7 separate regions of the Homo sapiens genome follow, and regions 1, 2, 3, 4, 5 and 6 are each linked to region 7. Evidence: promoter capture Hi-C in 16 types of primary human blood cells and fetal thymus (Javierre and others, 2016). All regions are on one chromosome and are shown on one strand. Each heading gives the region's core, a stretch centred on a gene start or on the middle of the fragment in contact. The rest is flanking DNA. Distances are from core to core; before and after follow the strand shown. Region 1 overlaps NEMF (nuclear export mediator factor). Region 2 overlaps KLHDC2 (kelch domain containing 2). Region 3 overlaps KLHDC1 (kelch domain containing 1). Region 4 overlaps NEMF (nuclear export mediator factor). Region 5 overlaps NEMF (nuclear export mediator factor). Region 6 overlaps LOC105378179 (a long non-coding RNA gene). Region 7 holds the start of SOS2 (SOS Ras/Rho guanine nucleotide exchange factor 2).

The links. Contacts are between HindIII fragments. The CHiCAGO score rates a contact against its expected background, and 5 or more counts as called.
Region 1: a fragment that was not itself captured here is called in contact with the fragment with the promoter of SOS2 in region 7 in 1 of 17 cell types (total B cells); the score reaches 5.2 in total B cells.
Region 2: a fragment that was not itself captured here is called in contact with the fragment with the promoter of SOS2 in region 7 in 9 of 17 cell types (non-activated CD4 T cells, fetal thymus, activated CD4 T cells and 6 more); the score reaches 9.9 in non-activated CD4 T cells.
Region 3: a contact is called between a fragment that was not itself captured here and the fragment with the promoter of SOS2 in region 7, in 1 of 17 cell types (total CD8 T cells). The highest score is 5.4, in total CD8 T cells.
Region 4: a contact is called between a fragment that was not itself captured here and the fragment with the promoter of SOS2 in region 7, in 9 of 17 cell types (total B cells, naive B cells, activated CD4 T cells and 6 more). The highest score is 9.8, in total B cells.
Region 5: a fragment that was not itself captured here is called in contact with the fragment with the promoter of SOS2 in region 7 in 3 of 17 cell types (total B cells, naive CD8 T cells and naive CD4 T cells); the score reaches 7.2 in total B cells.
Region 6: a fragment that was not itself captured here is called in contact with the fragment with the promoter of SOS2 in region 7 in 9 of 17 cell types (fetal thymus, erythroblasts, non-activated CD4 T cells and 6 more); the score reaches 8.7 in fetal thymus.

The regions. Positions count from the first base shown.
Region 1 is chr14:49,786,924-49,789,623 of GRCh38, forward strand. It overlaps NEMF (nuclear export mediator factor), which reads right to left. Exons shown (of 33, transcript NM_004713.6): 27 at 2,573-2,650; 28 at 2,223-2,420. Among named protein-coding and RNA genes, the nearest start is that of KLHDC2, 20 kb to the left of the region's middle. The HindIII fragment of the contact is 580 bases long and covers 991-1,570 here.
Region 2 is chr14:49,769,963-49,772,662 of GRCh38, forward strand. It overlaps KLHDC2 (kelch domain containing 2), which reads left to right. Exons shown (of 13, transcript NM_014315.3): 2 at 1,632-1,711. Among named protein-coding and RNA genes, the nearest start is that of KLHDC2, 3.2 kb to the left of the region's middle. The HindIII fragment of the contact is 1,618 bases long and covers 516-2,133 here.
Region 3 is chr14:49,727,256-49,730,128 of GRCh38, forward strand. KLHDC1 (kelch domain containing 1) reads left to right here. Exons shown (of 13, transcript NM_172193.3): 7 at 1,671-1,754; 8 at 2,235-2,293. Among named protein-coding and RNA genes, the nearest start is that of KLHDC1, 36 kb to the left of the region's middle. The HindIII fragment of the contact is 2,662 bases long and covers 147-2,808 here.
Region 4 is chr14:49,844,663-49,847,488 of GRCh38, forward strand. NEMF (nuclear export mediator factor) reads right to left here. Exons shown (of 33, transcript NM_004713.6): 4 at 1,478-1,603. Among named protein-coding and RNA genes, the nearest start is that of NEMF, 6.7 kb to the right of the region's middle. The HindIII fragment of the contact is 733 bases long and covers 944-1,676 here.
Region 5 is chr14:49,819,492-49,822,191 of GRCh38, forward strand. All of the region lies in intron 16 of NEMF (nuclear export mediator factor), which reads right to left. Among named protein-coding and RNA genes, the nearest start is that of NEMF, 32 kb to the right of the region's middle. RefSeq lists an enhancer at 2,165-2,700. The HindIII fragment of the contact is 6,022 bases long and covers 1-2,700 here.
Region 6 is chr14:49,863,714-49,866,443 of GRCh38, forward strand. LOC105378179 (a long non-coding RNA gene) reads right to left here. Exons shown (of 3, transcript XR_943839.3): 2 at 1-736. Among named protein-coding and RNA genes, the nearest start is that of NEMF, 12 kb to the left of the region's middle. The HindIII fragment of the contact is 1,296 bases long and covers 806-2,101 here.
Region 7 is chr14:50,230,255-50,232,954 of GRCh38, forward strand. It overlaps SOS2 (SOS Ras/Rho guanine nucleotide exchange factor 2), which reads right to left and starts at 1,324. Exons shown (of 23, transcript NM_006939.4): 1 at 943-1,324. The coding sequence starts at 1,029. RefSeq lists a silencer at 916-1,995 and an enhancer at 2,146-2,235. The HindIII fragment of the contact is 6,352 bases long and covers 1-2,203 here.

The sequences.
Region 1 (2,700 bases), core at 31-2,530, 440 kb before region 7:
TGTGTTTGTGTGTGTCTGTTTTATTACTTAAGAAAGTAATGTCATTCAAGAGAAGAAGGGTAGTTCTCTGAAGTAGAGGAGGTGGGAACTGAAACTTTCATATAAAGTATATGTTAAAGCAGCAAAAGTTACAAGTACAATTTAAAATGACAACTAAGGTTGATAAGTTTGCCAGGAGAAAAGCAAATGGAGAATTTTGGTCAACAGAACTTTTATTTTTAAATATCTGTTCAACAGTTTTGGATAAATTTTTCCCATATCCCATAAAATATGCTTAATTTTGTTTGCTTAAGAAAAATCTATCTGGAGATAACTGACTGTCTCAGTCTGTTCAGGCTGCTGTAACAAAATACCTTAGCCTGTATAATTTAGAAACAACAGAAATTTTACTTCTTACAGTTCTGAAGGCTGGGAAGTCCAGCATCAAGGCACCAGCAGATTCAATGTCTGATAAGGGCTTGCCTCAAAGATGGTACCTTAGGCTGGGTGTGGTGGCTCATACCTGTAATCCCAGCACTTTGGGAGGCCAAGGTCGGGGGATCCCTTGAGCCCAGGAGTTCGACACCAGCCTGGGCAACACAGGGAGACCTCATCTTAAAAAAAGATGGCACCTTATTGCAGTGTCCTCACGTGGCAAAAGGGCACTCATCTCATTCATGACAGAAGAGCCCTCGTGACTTCACTTCCTAAAGGCCCAACCTCTTAATACCATCACACTGGGTATTTAGGTTCCCATATATGAATTGTGGGGGGATATTAACATTTAGACCATAGCACCTACTCATGAAAGAACATTAATAATTAACACCTCTAGTGAGTATTTGTGAGTCTAGGATTTACAGAACATAAGGATATTGTACAAATTTTAAAAGCCAAAACGAGTTTTAGTATTACTAAACAACAACTGTTCAGCAGGAAAAAAAAGAAAATAGTAATACAGAATCCCTGTAAGCATTACCTGCACTAAACTGAGCACACAATTATAACTCAAGCTTTACATAAAAAAAATGCTGGTGACAAAGGTAAAAATTTTTTATCTGGCCTCTATTTTAAGCCGTTATTAAAAAATAAACAGGCTGGGCATGTGTCTTACGCCTGTAATCCCAACACTTTGGGAGGCCAAGGCAGGCGGATCACCTGAGATCAGGAGTTCAAGACCAGCCTGGCCAACATGGTGAAACCCCATCACCACTAAAAATACAAAAATAAGCCAGGCGTGATGGTGCATGCTTGTAATCCCAGCTACTCAGAAGGCTGAGGCCGGATAATTGCTTGAATCCGGGAGGTGGAGGTTGCAGTGAGCTGAGATTGTGCCACTGCACTCCAGCCTGGGCAACAGAGCAAGACTGCCTCAAAAAAAAAAAAAAAAAAAATTCAAGAAGAGGTACATATTCATGTAAGAAGATATACAGAAGGCTGGGCTTGCTGTACTGTTAATAAAACAATTAGGCAATCATCTTAGCTGGAAAAATACGAACTCACTGGTTTTGTAACCAGAGTACTTGGCTCTTAAATGGTGTACTCATTTTCAACATTATGTACGACCATATGGCATAGATTCCTATAGAAAAGCTTAGAGAAAGTGAAAATTTATTTTCTACACATCTTCAAGACAATCCCAATTTTCTCTCTCTCTTTTTTTTTTTTTTTTTGAGATGGAGTCTCGCTCTGTCGCCCAGGCTGGAGTGCAGTGGCACAATCTCGGCTCACTGCAAGCTCTGCCTCCCAGGTTCACGCTATTCTGCCTCAGCCTCCCAAGTAGCTGAGACTACAGGCGCTCACCACCACACCCGGCTAATTTTTTTGTATTTTTTTAGTAGAGACAGGGTTTCACCACGTTAGCCAGCATGGTCTCAATCTCCTGACCTTGTGATCTGCCTGCCTTGGCCTCTCAAAGTGCTGGGATTACAGGCGTGAGCCACCGTGCCAGGCCTCTCTGTCTTAATTTAATTCAGTTCCCATCAGAATCAAAGCCTCTCCTTAAAACTGATTACTTCCTAAAGGCTTGTAACAAAATTGTTATCAGCTATCAGTACTACCATTATCATGCTTAGATAAGATACTGCAATTTTAGTCTTTCAGGTTGTATTTCTGGATGACATTCCATTAAGAATAGGGTTACTCACTTGTCTTGGTTTTAGCACTGAAAGTCCCATGTCCTGGGAACTCCAGGATGGGTAATCACCCTAATTAAGAAGCAGAAGCCCACAAAGTAGCCATACCTTGTCATCATGTGGATCATCTACAGCAAAGTCTTGTAACTCATGAGTTATAACCTCAAGGAACGGAGTTTCTTTCTTAATGTTGTCAGAGACCCTCTGTCCACCTCTAGGTTTCTGGGGCTGTTTCTTCACAGGTTCGTCCTTTGTTTTTCCTTTCTTCCCCTTCTTCCCTTTTTCTTCTTTGTTTGAACCTGCAGACTTTAATTCATAGAGGAAACATCAGTCAGTGTTGTATTTTCAATACTGTGAATATTTTAACAAGAATGTATTGAATGCCTGTCATACGCTAGGCAGTGGGCTAGATGCCCATTTGAAAAGCAAAAGAAAAAATGTTTTTAGATGTTATTTACCCCCAGCAACTTCATGATAAGTTCACGGTCTTCTTCATCCTGGTCTTTGTATTTTTCTTTCATTTTTTTCATTTTACTCTACAAAATCAGAAGATTTTGGTTGGAAATATTCAGCAGCAAAAAAATGT
Region 2 (2,700 bases), core at 75-2,574, 460 kb before region 7:
GAGAATTGCAAGAAGGGGGGCGGGGGGGCAAGCATGTAGTCACCCTTATAAAAATGTAAATTAATTCCCCTGGAGAAACCTGTCAATGACACTTCTAAGCTACCTAATTCATAATTGTATTTTTAAAATGACAGCATGAGAGAATAAGACTTTGGGAGTGGGGCAGGGGAGGATTCTTAGTGTGGAATATTTCTTGTGGATTTAAAAGGGCCTGGATGATTGGGGCCGATTCAGGGAGGAGCAGCACAATCACTGAATTGGATGGTTCTGAAACAGACTGCCCTCCCCATTTATGGCTGGTGGCTGGAACCCTGAGGGTAGGCACAGAAGTCCTTGGAGATTGTTTCAAAGGCAATAAACCTTGGCTTCCTACATAGTAGGCAGTTTTCCTCCCCAGGACAGGCTGGTCCCCTGTGGGTCAGCCCGCTTCCAGCCTTTCCCTTCATCACTGGTGGGGTGGAAAAAGAAGTTGTTTTACGTGGTCAACTGTTCTGTTTCTGTATGTTTAATATTCAAGCTTGCTGGACTTTGACACCCATTTTTGGCTAACCGCAGTCGTTTACTGTGTCAACATTGTTCAGAAAGTGGCTAGGGAGGGTCAAAGGCTGGGAATGTCAGGCAGTTGTTAAAGTTCAGGGAAAGGATAGAATCCTGGCTCCATCATTACTTCATAAATAACCTTGGGCAAATTACTTAAACTCTAAACTTGTTTTCTCATAACATCAGCTACTTTTTAGGGTTGTTGTGAGGATTAAATAAAGCAATCCATGGATAGCTTTCAGCTGTGGCATATGGTAGGCTCAGTCTGTGTTAGGAATTAATACCTGAAGGGAAATGGAGCAGAACAAAGAACTTAAAATTCTGCATAAGGATTTAATATTTTGCATATTTGCAGTTCTGCCCTCTCTATTGCTGCTTAGAGAATGGATAGGTGAAAGGAAGGCATGGCTAGAAAACCACGCATCGTGTTAGCGTGGATCAGGCACTTTCAGTAACAGCCTGCTGACCATGGCACAGGCAGTCTCCTGAAGTCATGCAGCTGAAATTTGGTGCATGGTTCTGTTCAGGATAAAGCTGCCTTAGAGAGTTCCCAGAGATCTCTTGGCTGGGCACAATGGCTCACAGCCTGTAATCCCAGCACTTTGGGAGGCTGAGGTGGGTGGATTGCTTGAGGTTGGGAGTTTGAGACCAGCCTGGCCAACATGGTGAAACCCTGTCTCTACTAAAAATACAAAAATTAGCCAGGCGTGATGGCGAGTGCGTGCAGTCCCAGCTACTTAGGAGGCTGAGGCAGGAGAATCACTTGAACCCAGGAGGTGGACATTGCAGTGAGCCAGCCAAGATTGCGCCACTGCACTCCATCCTGAGCAATAGAGACTTGGACTAAAAAAAAAAAAGTTCCCAGAGATCTCTTCTTGTCCTATTGCAACTGCTGTATCAAAATTCTGAATTAAGAGCTATCTATGTTGAGCTTTACCTTGAGTGTGTGGCATGGGTGGGGGAGGATTGTGCACTGTAATACCTATTTTTCATACTAATTATGAAATTAGTATCTCAAGATCGATTTAAAAAATACAGTAGTGCCTCTTTAAAATACCAGTTTTTATATTTACAATTTTTTTTATTCTTAGAGTAATCAAGTCAGAGGATTATATGACTTTTATCTGCCTAGAGAAGAACTATGGATCTACAACATGGAGACTGGAAGATGGTAAATGTGGATATTATAAGGGGGACTAAAAAATTCAGATAAGGGCTGGGCACGGTGGCTGGCTCATGCCTATAATCCCAGCACTTTGGGAGGCCAACGCGGGCGGATCTCTCGAGGTCAAGAGTTCAACACCAGGCTGGGGTGAAACCCCATCTCTATTAAAAATACAAAAATTAGCCAGGCATGGTGGCGTGCTAATTCCAGCTACTTGGGAGTCCGAGGTGGGAGAATCGCTTGAATCTGGGAGGCGGAGGTTGCAGTGAGCTGAGATCGAGCCACTGCACTCCAGTCTGGGTGACAGAGCAAAACTGTCTCCAAAAACAAACAAATCAGATATGGCTGCAAAGAAAAAAATGTAAAACACTTTCTAAGCTACTTATATATTCTAAAAACACTGTTCTGCTACTTTAGCTTAGCTGCTAAGCTTAATTTAGCACCTGTTCTGTAGTTACTAGATACTTTTATGAACTTAGAATAAATTTCTATCTCAAGTATCATAGTAATATTTAAAATAGATGTAGAGGCTTCAGATCCAGAATGGAAAAATAAGTGTTCCATTTTTTTCAAGATGTTAAGTCTTCTGTTATATGATCTCTTGAATAAGGAAAGGAATTTATAAATGGTTAAATTGTTAGATTTTAGATTGTATAGAATTTTATCTGCTAAAAATAAAGGTGGTATTCTATTTTAATAAGCTCTCAAAATTTGCATGCAAATCTTTTTAAAAATAGTGTTGTTCTGTTTAAAAACCAAAATGACCTCCAGTTTGCCCTTTTTGTAAACTGGAGATAATCTGAAATGATCTTTTGCAGTTTCATAACAGTAGTAGTCAAGAGCATGTCCCTGGTAGAATCAAGGTGTTTCTCAAAATGCTGGGTTAGCCATGGTTGCGGATTTACAAAGTAGTTTTCCCCATGGTGTGCTTTGTGAGAACTTTATGCTTTAAATATTTTACTTACTGTAGATCTCAGAATTAGCGTAGTAGTCCC
Region 3 (2,873 bases), core at 228-2,727, 500 kb before region 7:
AAAAAAAAAAAGAAAGAAAGAAAAGGACTCTGCCTCTACTTGGGCATGTTCCTACCCTTTACAGCAATTCCTGATGCCAAAGGGATGATTGGCCAGTCTTGAGTCACATGTTCATTGCTAGGAACAGGAGGCTATTGTGACTGATAAGCTTACCAGAATTGAACAGAGTGGAATGCTAAGCAGGTCGTATATGCACAGTTACATACATGTCTACTAATACACATATATGACCAGAATTCCTTACAGTCCAACTTCTGTTCATGGAAATGATGGGAAGGTCTATACAAAATCGTAAGTATTAGAGTTTGGCCATTCTCTGGATTCTCTTTTTCCAGGCAATAAATTTCAGATTTCCAGTACTCTTCTATTCTCTTCTATATAGTAGAAGAATTCTTCCAAAATTTCAGATCAAGCCTGGGGTAATAATAAAAATTTTGTTTTGCTGGAAGGGCTGGGAACCAAAATTCTTAAGTGGTTCTCATTTAAGTGTTATATAGGTAATATCTGAATTATGTCTTACCAAGTTGACCTCAGCACAGTTATTCAAATAAGCCTGAAAAGTTTAGGAAGTTATGATATTGGATGCAGAGCTTTAATTTCCTATACCCACTTTGAGTAGCCAGTGAGCTGAAAATGTCAGGTTCTTTCAGAACTTGGAATTAAAATACATACATAAAGGCACCCACCATGAAAATATGGAAATTATGCAGAAGATTTTTCCCTCAAACCTTATTCATTCATCTACCCATGATACTCACTTTTTCCACCAATTAAAAACCTCCCTAGGGTGGCGTAATGGCTCACGCCTGTAATCTCAGCACTTTGGGAGGTTGAGGCAGGCAGATCGCTCGAGGCCAGGAGGTTTGAGACCAGCCTGGACAGCAGAGCGAAACCTCATCTCTACTAAAAATACAAAAATTAGCCGGGCCTGGTGTTGCACACCTGTAATCCCAGCTACTGGGGAGGTTGAGGCAGGAGAATCGCATAAACCCGGGAGGTGGAGGTGGCAGTGAGCCGAGATTGTGCCATTGCACTCAAGCCTTGGCAACAGAGCAAGACTCTGCCTTGAAACAAAAAACAAAACTTCTCTAAAGAAAAGGTCTGCTATATTTATTCAAAATAAAGTGTAGAGAAGTGTTATCAATTAATGTTAAGAGTTTTAGTAAGAGAGAGAGCACTGTCTGGCTTAAGCCAAGAGTGAACTTCTTATTGTAAATTTGAGGCACCAAGAGTTTTGGGGCCATTTTTAATTTTACAGAGTTTCTGAGATAATCGCAATATGCACTGCTCACTTCTAATGGGAACTCTGTGTGTGTGAAAGAGAAACAGAGGAGAGAGGGAGAGAGAGAACATTTTAAAATTTGATTTTAAAATCTTTATACAGTATTTCAAACAAAAATTTACATGAAACCTTATTTTGCTAAATAGTGTCAGACATATAAGAAAAACATTTTCAAAAGTAAAGATCAGGGAGAATAAAATGTATTCTGACAAATAGTATTTGTCTACAATTAGTACTATTTAGAATAAACTTTTGCATTAGCGTTTTTAATTGAATTACATAGGTAATGATAACTTAGTGATTAAGACTTTCACATACTGAGCATAGGAATGTAACTTTATTACAGATATTTCAAGTCTTTGCAGTCTGTTCTGATTTCTACTTGCAGGGTGGAGTTCCACCACAGCCACGAGCCGCGCATACATGTGCAGTTCTTGGAAATAAGGGTTATATCTTTGGCGGACGTGTTCTGGTTAGTGTTTTTAATGGAAATGGTATTTTTATGTGCAATGCTCCTTATAAAAATTTATCCTCTGATTTCGTGGAATAATTGAACATTCATGTAATCTAGAGATTAAAATGGCATTCAATACTAATTTTATTTATCTTCTAATTCATAAACAGACCATACATGAACAATCATAGATGATTATAAATCATATTTTAATGAGGAGAATCTTTCAGTGCAGTATCAGAAAAAATTAATTTCTTGTCATCTAAAGCCTGTGAATTTAAACCTATTTCTTCCTATTTTTTCCTTTCCCCTTTGACACATTGATTTGGGAGCTCTGTGTCAGTCTTATTAATGCTTAGCATTGTTTTCCAATAGTTAAACATCTTATGTGAAGTAAAATAGAGATAGTCTATTTTTAATCTGAACTTACTTTAAAAGAAAAATTTTAGCTGATAAAAGATGTGAAATACTGACCAATGTAACACACTTTTCTTTTAGCAAACTAGGATGAATGATTTGCACTATCTAAACCTAGACACCTGGACTTGGTCTGGAAGGTAAGTTTGAAGTCTAAGTACGTTTTAATCTATAGGCATGTGTATGTGTCTGTATGTCACCATAATCCAAATGTGAGTCTTTAAAACTGGACTGGTATTTTTTTCCTTCAGATCGTATGTCTAAGCAAGGACTATATAGATTTAAATAGAGTTTGTTCCTTAACCAGACAAGATAAAACATGAAAATACTAACAGTTGAAATTAGATTATATAAAAGTACTGGTTTTATACTAAGTAGTTTTTGAGGATTGATCAGTAGAAGAAATGAAGAAGTGGTTGAATGGGGTCATCTCAGGTGAACAGGTAATGGAGTAAAGTCGGATTTTATTTGTAGCTCATAATATGTATTTAACAATAGAACAAATATATTTAGCTATCAACTTAGCAATTTGTATAATGAGATGGAATCAGAGCTATATATTATTCCAAAGTATAAGTACCATTAAATACCATAAAACCATGAAAGTCTCAGAAGAAAATATAGCAGATTATCTTTAAAATGTTGGCATGGAGAAAGCTTTGTAAAGATGATATGAACTCAAAATTCATAAATGAAAAGACTGATCGATAAGACTACTTA
Region 4 (2,826 bases), core at 60-2,559, 390 kb before region 7:
TATGCTTACCTCAGACCAGATTAAATTTATGTATTTATTTATTTATATACATACACACGCACGCGCACGCGCGCGCACACACACACACACACACACACACACATATATTTTTTTTTTCCTTTTTGAGACTGAATCTCACTCTGTCACCTGAGCTGGAGTACAATGGCATGATCTCAGCTCACTGCAACCACTGCCTCCCAGGTTCAAGTGATTCTCCTGCCTCAGCCTCCCGAGTAGCTGGGACTACAGGCACGCACCACCACACCAGGCTAATTTTTGTATTTTTAGTAGAGATGCAGTTTTGCCACATTGGGCAGGCTGGTCTCAAACTCCTGACCTCAGGTGATCCACTCGCCTTGGCCTCCCAAAGTGCTGGGATTACAGGTGTGAGCCACCACACCTGGCCCAGATTAAGTTAGTTAGTTAGTTAGTTAGTTAGTTTATTTTTGAGACAAAGTCTTGCTCCGTTGCCCAGGCTGGAGCACAGTGACACAATCTGAGCTCACTGGAACCTCTGCCTCCCAGGTTCAAGTGATTCTCCTGCCTCAGCCTCCCGAGTAGCTGGGATTATAGGTGCCCGCCACCACGCCCAGCTAATTTTTGTATTTTTTAATAGAGACGGGGTTTTGCCATGTTGGCCAGGCTGGTCTTGAACTCCTGACCCCAGGTGATCTGACCCCAGGTGATCCGCCCTCCTCGGCCTCCCAAAATGCTAGGATTACAGGTGTGAGCCACTGTGCCCGGCCTGAGTCATTGCGCTCAGCCAAATTTATTTTTAAGATGTTTTTCTTTCTTCAATAATAAATTAACCTTTGCTTCCTGGAACTTTTTTACTTTATAAACTTTAAACTTTTTAGCTTTTTGACTCTTGTAATAACACTTAGCTTAAAACACATATCGTACAGCTGTACAATACTTTCTTTCTTTAGATCCATATTCTCTAAGCTTTTTTTCCATTTTAAATTGTTTTGTTTTTACTTTTAATGTTTTTGTTAAAAACTAACACACAAACTCACACACCAGCCTAGGCCTACACAGAGTCAGGATCAAGATGTCACTAAGCAGTAAGAATTTATTAGATCCATTACAATGTTACAGGACCAACGTTTATATGCAGTCTGTTGTTGACTGAAACATCACTATACATACAGCGCATCAGTGCATGACCGTATTTGACTATTTTCTGGTTGCATATTAGTCCTGAAATGTCAAGTACCAAATAATTTACTTCTCAGATCTTCATCTCCTACATTCATAAGGCTATTCTAAATGGCTAAAGTCTGCCTAAACTCAGACCTACAGATAAAATGAAGGTTATTACTGGAAAATTTTATTTTATTTGTGTGGCACCCATTTCCTAGGGTAGTAACAACCTTTGACACAGAAAAAAAATGTTCCCCCACTCATGTTATATAGCACTATTACAAAATGATTAATAAGAAATTTTCCTTCACCATATCCCACAAATTTAACTTACCCTATCATAGAGCTCAATGATTAAATGGTAAGCAGCTTCATCACTTCCAAATTGAAAATCTACAATTCTATCCACACCAAGCTGTTTTGCACTGACTAATCTCCGACTCTTCAAATGTTTTCGGCACTAGCAAGAGAAAGAAAAAGGCATTCATTTAGTAAAAGTGAATTCCTAACCATTTGGTATTGGTTTATAAATAAGCTTCTTTTCATTATCATCAGGAATATTTAAAACGTTGTGAATAACAGTATAGTCATAAAGTAATAGATTGCAGATGATAATCAGAGGGAAAACATTTTATTATAAACACTAACTCTGAAACAGTGTTTTATTTGCATTTTTTTAAGACAGGGTCTCACTCTGTCACCCAAACTGGAGCCCAGTGGTGTGATCATGGCTCGCTGCAGCCTCGACTTCCCTGGCTCAGGTGATCCTCCTGCATCAGCCTCCTGAGGATTGGGACCACAGGCACATGCCACTATCCCCAGCTAATTTTTTCATTATTTGTAGAGACAGGGTCTCACTATGTTGCCCAGGCTAATCTCAAACTCCTGGGCACAAGCAATCCTCCTGCCTTGGCCTCCCAAAGTGCTGGGATTACAAGCGTAAGCTACTGAGCCAGGCTTTTATTTTCAATTTTTAAGTAGAGAATGATGGACCTATAGCAAAATTTGCTTTGTTGCTTTATACCACTGCTAAATTCCTTGTTGTGGTCCTAATGACCTCACTCATAAGCCACAACCTTTATTTATTTACTTTATTTTGAGAGAGAGTCTCGCTCTGTCGCCCAGACTGGAATGCAGTGGCACAGTCTCAGCTCACTGCAACCTCCGCCTCCCAGGTTCAAGTGATTCTCCTGCCTCAGCCTCCTGAGTAGCTGAAATTACAGGCGTGTGCCACCACACCCGGCTAATTTTTCTATTTTTAGTAGAGACGGGGTTTCACCATGTTGGTCAGGCTGGTCTCGAAGTTCTGACCTCGTGATCCGCCCACCTCAGCCTCCCAAAGTGCTGGGATTACAGGCATGAGCCACTGTGCCCAGCCAACCTTTACTTATTTATTTATTTATTTATTTATTTGGAGACGGAGTCTCACTTTGTCACCCAGGCTGGAGTACAGTAGCACAATCTTGGCTCACTGCAACTTCTGCCTCCCAGGTTCAAGCAATCCTCCTGCCTCACCCTCCCAAGAGTAGCTGGGACTACAGGCGCCCACTACCACGCCTGGCTAATTTTTTGTATTTTAGTAGAGACGGGGTTTCTCCACGTTGCCCAGGCTGGTCTCGAACTCCTGAGCTCAGGCAATCTGCCCACCTCGGCCTCCCAAAGTGTTAGGATTACAGGCGTGAG
Region 5 (2,700 bases), core at 88-2,587, 410 kb before region 7:
GCAACGTCTGCCTCCCAGGCTCAAGTGATCCTCCCACCTCAGCCTTTCAAGTAGCTGGGACTACAGGTGTGCACAACCACACCTAGCTAATTTTTGTATTTTTGTAGAGACGGGGTTTCGCCATGTTGCCCAGGCTGGTCTCGAACTCCTCACCTCAGGTTATCTGCCCGCCTATGGTCTCCCAAAGTGCTGGGATTACAGGCGTGAGCCACCGCACCTAGCCTATCCCTGTCTTTATAGAAACATTGTGAAAAGGAGAGAGTTCTGAATGTTGATGTCCCTGAGGTAGAGCAATTGCATGTACCCAAAATCTGTGTGTTTTCATTTGTGAGCATCTAGTCCAGTGCCCTCCCTTCACTTGCTCTGAGGGTGTAGGATGTTGTGATACCCATTAGCTAATTACCTTTGGGAAATGATTTCAGAGGATTAGAATGCCACTTCAGCCACCCATTTTTTTTTTTTGTTTTTGTTTTTTTCTGAGACAGAGTCTCACTCTGTTGCCCAGACTGGAGTGCAGAGGCGCCATCTTGGCTCACTGCAACCTCCGCCTCCCAGGTTCAAGCGATTCTTCTGCCTCAGCCACCCGAGTAGCTTGGTCTACAGGCACAAGCCACCACACCTGGCTAATTTTTGTATTTTTAGTAGAAACGGGGGTTCACCTTATTGGCCAGGCTGGTCTCAAACTCCTGATCTTGTCATCTGCCCGCCTCGGCCTCCCAAAGTGCTGGGATAACAGGCATGAGCCACTGTGGCTGGCCCCCATTTCCTTTTGACAGCAGGCAAGTGTCTGTGTGTTTGTTGAAATGACACATTTGATCCTTTTTATGGCTCAAAGAAAAGTTAATGAATACCTTTTGAGTTTGGTGCCATGACAGAGTCATTCCTCAAACCTGTCAGCACTTACGCGTTGTCCTCTGGTCACTGCATGACTTCGCTGAAGTTCCTTACCCTCTCCGTTTCAGATTCTGAAAGTATTGTATCAAGAGCTAATAATCGGCTGGGCGCGGTGGCTCATGCCTATAATCCCGGCACTTTGGAAGGCCGAGGAGGGTGGATCACTTGAGGTCAGGAGTTCGAGACTAGCCTGGCCAATATGGTGAAATCCATCTCTACAAAAAGTACAAAATCCCCTCTCCCCTCTCTCCTCCCCCTTCCACGGTCTCCCTCTCATGCCGAGCCAAAGCTGGACTGTGCTGCTGCCATCTCGGCTCACTGCAACCTCCCTGCCTGATTCTCCTGCCTCAGCCTGCCGAGTGCCTGCGATTGCAGGTGCGTGCCGCCACGCCTGACTGGTTTTCGTATTTTTTTGGTGGAGATGGGGTTTCGCTGTGTTGGCCGGGCTGGTCTCCAGCTCCTAACCACGAGTGATCCGCCAGCCTCGGCATCCCAAGGTGCCGGGATTGCAGACGGAGTCTCGTTAACTCAGTGCTCCCCACCTGGGAAGTGAGGAGCGCCTCTTCCCGGCCGCCATCCCATCTAGGAAGTGAGGAGCGTCTCTGCCCGGCCGCCCATCATCTGAGATGTGGGGAGCACCTCTGCCCCGCCGCCCCGTCTGGGATGTGAGGAGCACCTCGGCCCGGCCGCGACCCCGTCTGGGAGGTGAGGAGCGTCTCTGCCCGGCCGCCCCGTCTGAGAAGTGAGGAGCCCCTCCGCCCGGCTGCCACCCCGTCTGGGAAGTGAGGAGCGTCTCCGCCCGGCAGCCACCACGCCCGGGAGGGAGGTGGGGGGGTCAGCCCCCGCCAGGCCAGCCGCCCCGTCCGGGAGGGAGGTGGGGGGCTCAGCCCCCCGCCCGGCCAGCCGCCCCGTCCGGGAGGGAGGTGGGGGGGGTCAGCCCCCCGCCCGGCCAGCCGCCCCGTCCGGGAGGGAGGTGGGGGGGGTCAGCCCCCCGCCCGGCCAGCCGCCCCGTCCGGGAGGGAGGTGGGAGGCTCAGCCCCCCGCCCGGCCAGCCGCCCCGTCCGGGAGGGAGGTGGGGGGGTCAGCCCCCCGCCCAGTCAGCCGCCCCGTCCAGGAGGTGAGGGGTGCCTCTGCCCGGCCGCCCCTACTGGGAAGTGAGGAGCCCCTCTGCCCGGCCAGCCGCCCCGTCCGGGAGGGAGGTGGGGGGGTCAGCCCCCCGCCCGGCCAGCTGCCCCGTCCGGGAGGGAGGTGGGGGGCTCAGCCCCCCGCCCGGCCAGCCGCCCCGTCCGGGAGGGAGGTGGGGGGCTCAGCCCCCCGCCCGGCCAGCCGCCCCGTCCAGGAGGTGAGGGGCGCCTCTGCCCGGCCGCCCCTACTGGGAAGTGAGGAGCCCCTCTGCCCAGCCACCACCCCGTCTGGGAGGAGGTACCCAACAGCTCATTGAGAATGGGCCATGATGACAATGGCGGTTTTGTGGAATAGAAAAGGGGGCAAGGTGGGGAAAAGATTGAGAAATTGGATGGTTGCTGTGTCTGTGTAGAAAGTAGTAGACATGGGAGACTTTTCATTTTGTTCTGTACTAAGAAAAATTCTTCTGCCTTGGGATCCTGTTGATCTATGACCTTACCCCCAACCCTGTGCTCTCTGAAACATGTGCTGTGTCCACTCAGGGTTAAATGGATTAAGGGCGGTGCAAGATGTGCTTTGTTAAACAGATGCTTGAAGGCAGCATGCTCGTTGAGAGTCATCACCACTCCCCAATCTCAAGTACCTAGGGACACAAACACTCTGCCTAGGAAAACCAGAGAC
Region 6 (2,730 bases), core at 204-2,703, 370 kb before region 7:
CATGGATAAATTGAAGGCCAACAGACAAAAACTTTTCAACTCTTTGCTGCTCTGTCCGCTCTAAATTTATCTTTACACCTTCAGAGAAGAGCACCCTTCTGTTTTCCCCTCCTACCTCAAACCCAGTAGGTCAAAATTCTTCCATCAATCATTTTTACCCATTCTATCTCTCTCTTTCATTTATACAGATTCCAAGCTGCCTTTCTTCTAAAAAAAAAAAAAAAAAAAAAGTAAAAAAACTCCTTTGACCTTGCCTTTCTAAATGAAATCTGTCTGTTGTTTTCATGGCTGCACTTCTTGAAACCATGTTCTACAATTGCTACATTTGCTTCTTAACCTTCTGTCTTCAGTCCATAGCCCACCAATCCACTGAAACTATTCTAGCTAAGGCTACGATACCCAAGCCTCCTAATTGGCAGGTCTAAGGGACCCTTTCTGACATAGGTGATGTAATTTACCACCAATCTCTGTCACTTGTGACTGCTGTTTCCTCCCTGAACGTTTCTTCTCCCTGGTTCTTGTTCACAGCCCCTGATATTTCCTCCCAGGCTCTCTCTTCTGCCCACCCAGCAAATGTTTTTGTTCCTTACAGTTCCCTCCTAAATGTTCTCTGTTCTCTCACCGTGTTCTTCATGAGTGATGTAATAAATTCTCAAGGCTCTCAAATCTGTAGTTCCAATCTGATGCTGTTTCCAGAGCTTCAGATTCACATTTTTAGTTGCCTTCTGGATGTCACCTTGAAATCATTCAAAACTTCAAATTCAGTATTTGCAAACAAAACTGATCATCTTCTCTTCTTCCTCCAAGCTTACCCATTTTTTCTTTTTATCAATATGTTTATTTATTTATTTTTTGAGACAGAGTCTTGCTCCGTTGCCCAGGCTGGAGTGCAGTGGCACGATCTCGGCTCACTGCAACCTCCGCTTCCTGGGTTCAAGTGATTCTCCTGCCTCAGCCTCCTCAGTAGCTGGGATTACAGGTGCCCACCACCGCACCCAGCTAATTTTTGTATTTTCAGTAAAGATGGGGTTTCACAATGTTGGCCAGGCTGGTCTTGAACTCCTGACCTCATGATCCACCTGCCTCGGCCTCCCAAAGTGCTGGGATTACAGGCGTGAGCCACTGTGCCTGGCTCATCAGTATGTTTAGTTGCTCACTTCAGAACTCTCAGAGTCATCCTTGACTACTATTTCATCCATTCAATACCAAATACTTACTTTTTACTTATCCAGTGACAGGCACTGTACTAGGTGGTAGAGATGTGGTGGTGAAGAAAAGAGACAGAGTGGAAGAGACAGACAAAAACTTAGCAAAAAAAATTATAATTTCAAACTGTGATAAGTACCGGTGAAGGAAGCACAGTACTGAGATATGAACAATGGTGGTAGGAAGCAGGTGGGGCACCTGCTTTTGAGAATGTAGTCAGGTAAGCCTCTTTTAGGAGGTATCATTTAAATTAGGGCCTGAAGAATGAGGCATCGGTTAAGGTACATTGAAGCAAACAAGGACTGTCTGTAAACTGAAGTAAACGAACCTCTCTTTAGGAAATTCAGAAGAAAGAAAATTATCTCGAGGAAGTTGGTCAGAAGAAAATGGGCAGATCATGAAATGTTAGTTGTCCCCCAAAGTCGGTTCTCCCCTTTTACAGTGCTAATACATTGCTACTTGGGCACATGAATCCCAGCTAGAGACCACATTGCCTGAATTTCCTTACAACCAAGTGTGGTCAAGTTCTCACTAATGGAATATGAATGAAAGTTGTATGTGTCCTCTGCATCACTTGCTTAAAAAGAAATCGGTTGCCCTCTACTTTGGCCCTCTTGGCCTTTCCAGCGCTAGGTGGCGCCAGTGCAGATCCACTGCAGTGCCCCACCTTTAACCATGCAAATTAGGAAAAATACCTAGGGTCGAGGAAAGAAACCAGTGAATGCAGAAGGGGCAGGATTGGAAAACAAAACAAAACAAAACAAAACAAAAAAAAAAAAACAACCAAACCAAACCAAAATAAAACCAAAACAGCAGAGTCCATGGATGAATTAATGAAGCTGATCCACCCTATAGCCTCCACCACTCCTACCTCTGGACTGTTAGATGAGAAATAAGCTTCCATCTTAATTCAATCACTATATTTTGGGGTCTCTTTATTATTACAGCATACTCTGTACTCTAACTAATAGAGGGAGGTTCCCAGAAGAAAATCCTGGATAAGCAGAACTCAGAGCAGGAACCAAAAGAGCTCCAGGTATCTACAGGGCACCCCAATGGGATGAACCATCCTCAGTATCCTCTAAGAAGAGTCTGATTTTCTAGTTTGAGTTCTGTATTCTTCTACAATCTGTATTTATATGCATACCTATTTTTATTTTTGTTATTTATTTATTTTTTGAGACGAAGTTTCGCTCCGCTTGCCCAAGCCAGAGTGCAATGGTGTGATCTCAGCTCATTGCAACCTCCGCCTCCTGGGTTCAAGTGATTCTCCTGCCTCAGCCTCCAGAGCAGCTGGGATTACAGGCACGTGCCACCATGCCCAGCTAATTTTTTGTATTTTTAGTAGAAACGGGGTTTCACCATGTTAGCCAGGCTGGTCTCGAACTCCTGATCTTAGGTGATCCACCCGCCTCAGCCTCCCAAAGTGCTGGGCTTACAGGCATGAGCCACCACGCCCGGCCATGCATACCTATTTTTATTATAATTATGTTGTAAATAAAACATCTGTGTCTTGCTTTTCTT
Region 7 (2,700 bases), core at 74-2,573:
TTTTAGAATGTATTCTTGGTTATTTTGCACAAAAGGCAGAAGAGACTAAGTCTGCATTAACGGCAAAGAAAGAAAGCCCCTGCTCAACAGGCATGACAGCTGATCACGCACCTATTCACAGTCTTTAAATGTCTTGATCTTACAGAAGGATTTATTATAAAAATGATCGTATGGTTACTACCTAAATTCACAGAGGAAGACCGCCACCATCTACAGGAAAGATGCACCCTAGCAATGCACCCAAACATGAAAGACTGATTTGCAGGAGTTGCCCCTTTCTTGTTCCTTAAAATGATTTCAAGTCCTAAATCGCAATTTGGTCGTGAAGACACTGAAGACACTGACCAAATTTTCTAAGGGTAATCTCTTGTAAACAGGTAAGACACCGTTTGCAGGAAGTGGGAAGGCGCTTTAAATTTACCTTGAGAACTGTAAAATGAATAAGAATATTATGACTCACTGACATTTCACACATGTGAAACATCCATATTACAAAAAACCATTGCCTCATAAGTGGATACCCTTGACAAGCAAACCGCCTAGGGGGAACACTCCCAAAGAACTTAATTAAAAGTAATTACCCGGCCTGAAAATGTGCTTTTGTTTTAGAAACTGTCTAAATACCAGCGGGACTTTCTCTTGCCCGATTCCAGCCTGAGGACAACAAATTGGTCAACGGCGGAAGTTGCCTGACGAAATGACTGCAACATGAAATCCAGTTTTATGATCATAACAAAACCTTCCTTCCGGGACCAGGCAAAAAAAAAAAACTTGAGAAACGTCCTTCAGAATGCAACAGGCAATTGTGAGCCCCCCATTGCCAGCCAACGAGAAACGGCTCGGCCCCGGGGACTCGAGCCCTGTGGGAGGGACGACCTGCTCCCCGTTAGAAGCTCGGGGGGCCACGGGCCACCCGCCGGCCGCCCCGCCCCTAGCACTGACCTTCCGCAGGGCCGAGACCAACAGTCCCCGCCATTTCGGACTGTTCTCCTCGCTGAAGAACTCGTAAGGCTGCGGCGCCTGCTGCATGGCCCCGGCGACAGCGCCTCCGCATCGGGGGCAGCCCGCGGGCCGGGCCGGTGGCCTGACAGGCAGGGCGCGGGCCGCCTCGCCTCGCCGGCGGCCGCCGCCTCCCGCCCGGGCCGAGGCTACGGCCGAGGCGGCTCGGAGGCGGCGCCGGCGGGCTGGCGGAGACCCCGGGGTCGGCTTCCTCCGCCGAGGCGGCCCTCGCCTCCCGCAGCGCCCGCAGAGGAAGCGCGGCGACCCGCAAGCCCGGGCGACCCCGGGCGGCGACCTCCTTTCCCGGCGGCGCTGGCCCGCTTCTGGGGCGGCTCCTCCTCCTTTGTCTGGGTTCGCGGCCCGTCAGGGGTACAGCTGGCCCAGCCCCGCCCCGACTCCCGCTACGGCCGCGGCGGGCGGTGAGCAGCGGCGGCGGCGGCGGCGGCTGCTCGTCTCCTCATCGCCTCCTCCCCGCCCTCCCAGCCGACAGCGCCGCCCGGCCCTGCCCACTCGAGTCACCTCCACAGAGCTCTGGGGACCGACCCGGAGTGCGCGTCGGGCGAGCGAGCCTCGCTATGGCGCGCACAGCGCTGGCCGCCGTTGCTGCCCCTTTAGCAGCAGCGCAGAGTGCCTTGGGGTCGCCGCTGAGCCCTGAGTCCCAGCAGCCGAGGCTCGGCCCGCCCCCTCGGCCCGGCGCTCATTATCCCGAATAGCCCAAGAGGCCTAACACGGAGCATGCGCGCCGCGGAGCAGGCACAGGCGCCAGCCCGGCGCGGGGGTGCGGGGCCTGGGGCCCCGGGGGAGTCCGCTTTTCCCGAGACTGTGCTGGGGGCCGCTCCAGACTCTTCAGTTTGACTGCTTTTTACCCATATGCTCCCTCCTCTCGACCTGCTTAAGACAATCCGGACTCGGTGCCACTCTTGTAGCGCTGGAGCCCCAGGACTACCGTCGTGGGAGGCTGCATAGGGACGTGGAGAGAAAGGGGCATTCGGGCTGGACAGGATATTTAACGTATTTGTGCTCTACGTGGCTTGTTTTCATGAGTACCGTATGTTTACACAAAGTAGGTACTATATATAATATATCGTTAGGAGATACAGTAACTATTTCTTAGGGTGATGGTGTGGGGACCGAGAGATGAGGCGTGGAAAGCCCTTAGCCTGGTGGTAGGGTCAGAAGGGGCAGATGACAGTGACGTTGATCAAGCTTGAATTGAAAGGTCCTTCACTTGCACGGGCCCCTGTGCGTTCACAAAATCATATCGTTTTTACAAAACTTTCAAGATATTTTCGAATTGTTTTCTTAATCGTGTCATCCAAATTGTGTAGGCTTCAGGTCCTACAAAACCTGGATCGGCGTCTAGGAAACACTCATTAGCAACCCAGAAAAGATCCTGACAAGCTTTTCAATCCAAAGAGGCATAGGCTCTGGTAACTCATTACCACAAATTTCATCCCACTAAAGAGGCTGAGCACATTACTTTTAACAGGTTGTAAAGAAGATATTTTACTCCCTGTCCCTAGCCACCAGCAGTGAGAAAGGGAAAAGACGAACAGGGTACAAAAAATAAGTCAGTACTACAATTCAGTTCCGGCATCAGTAGCTGAGCAATTATTCTCCCCAAAACATGCACCACTTTTTCATTTGGGCAAAATCAGAATGGCAGAGTTGGAAAATAAGATTATTTTTCTAATCCACTAA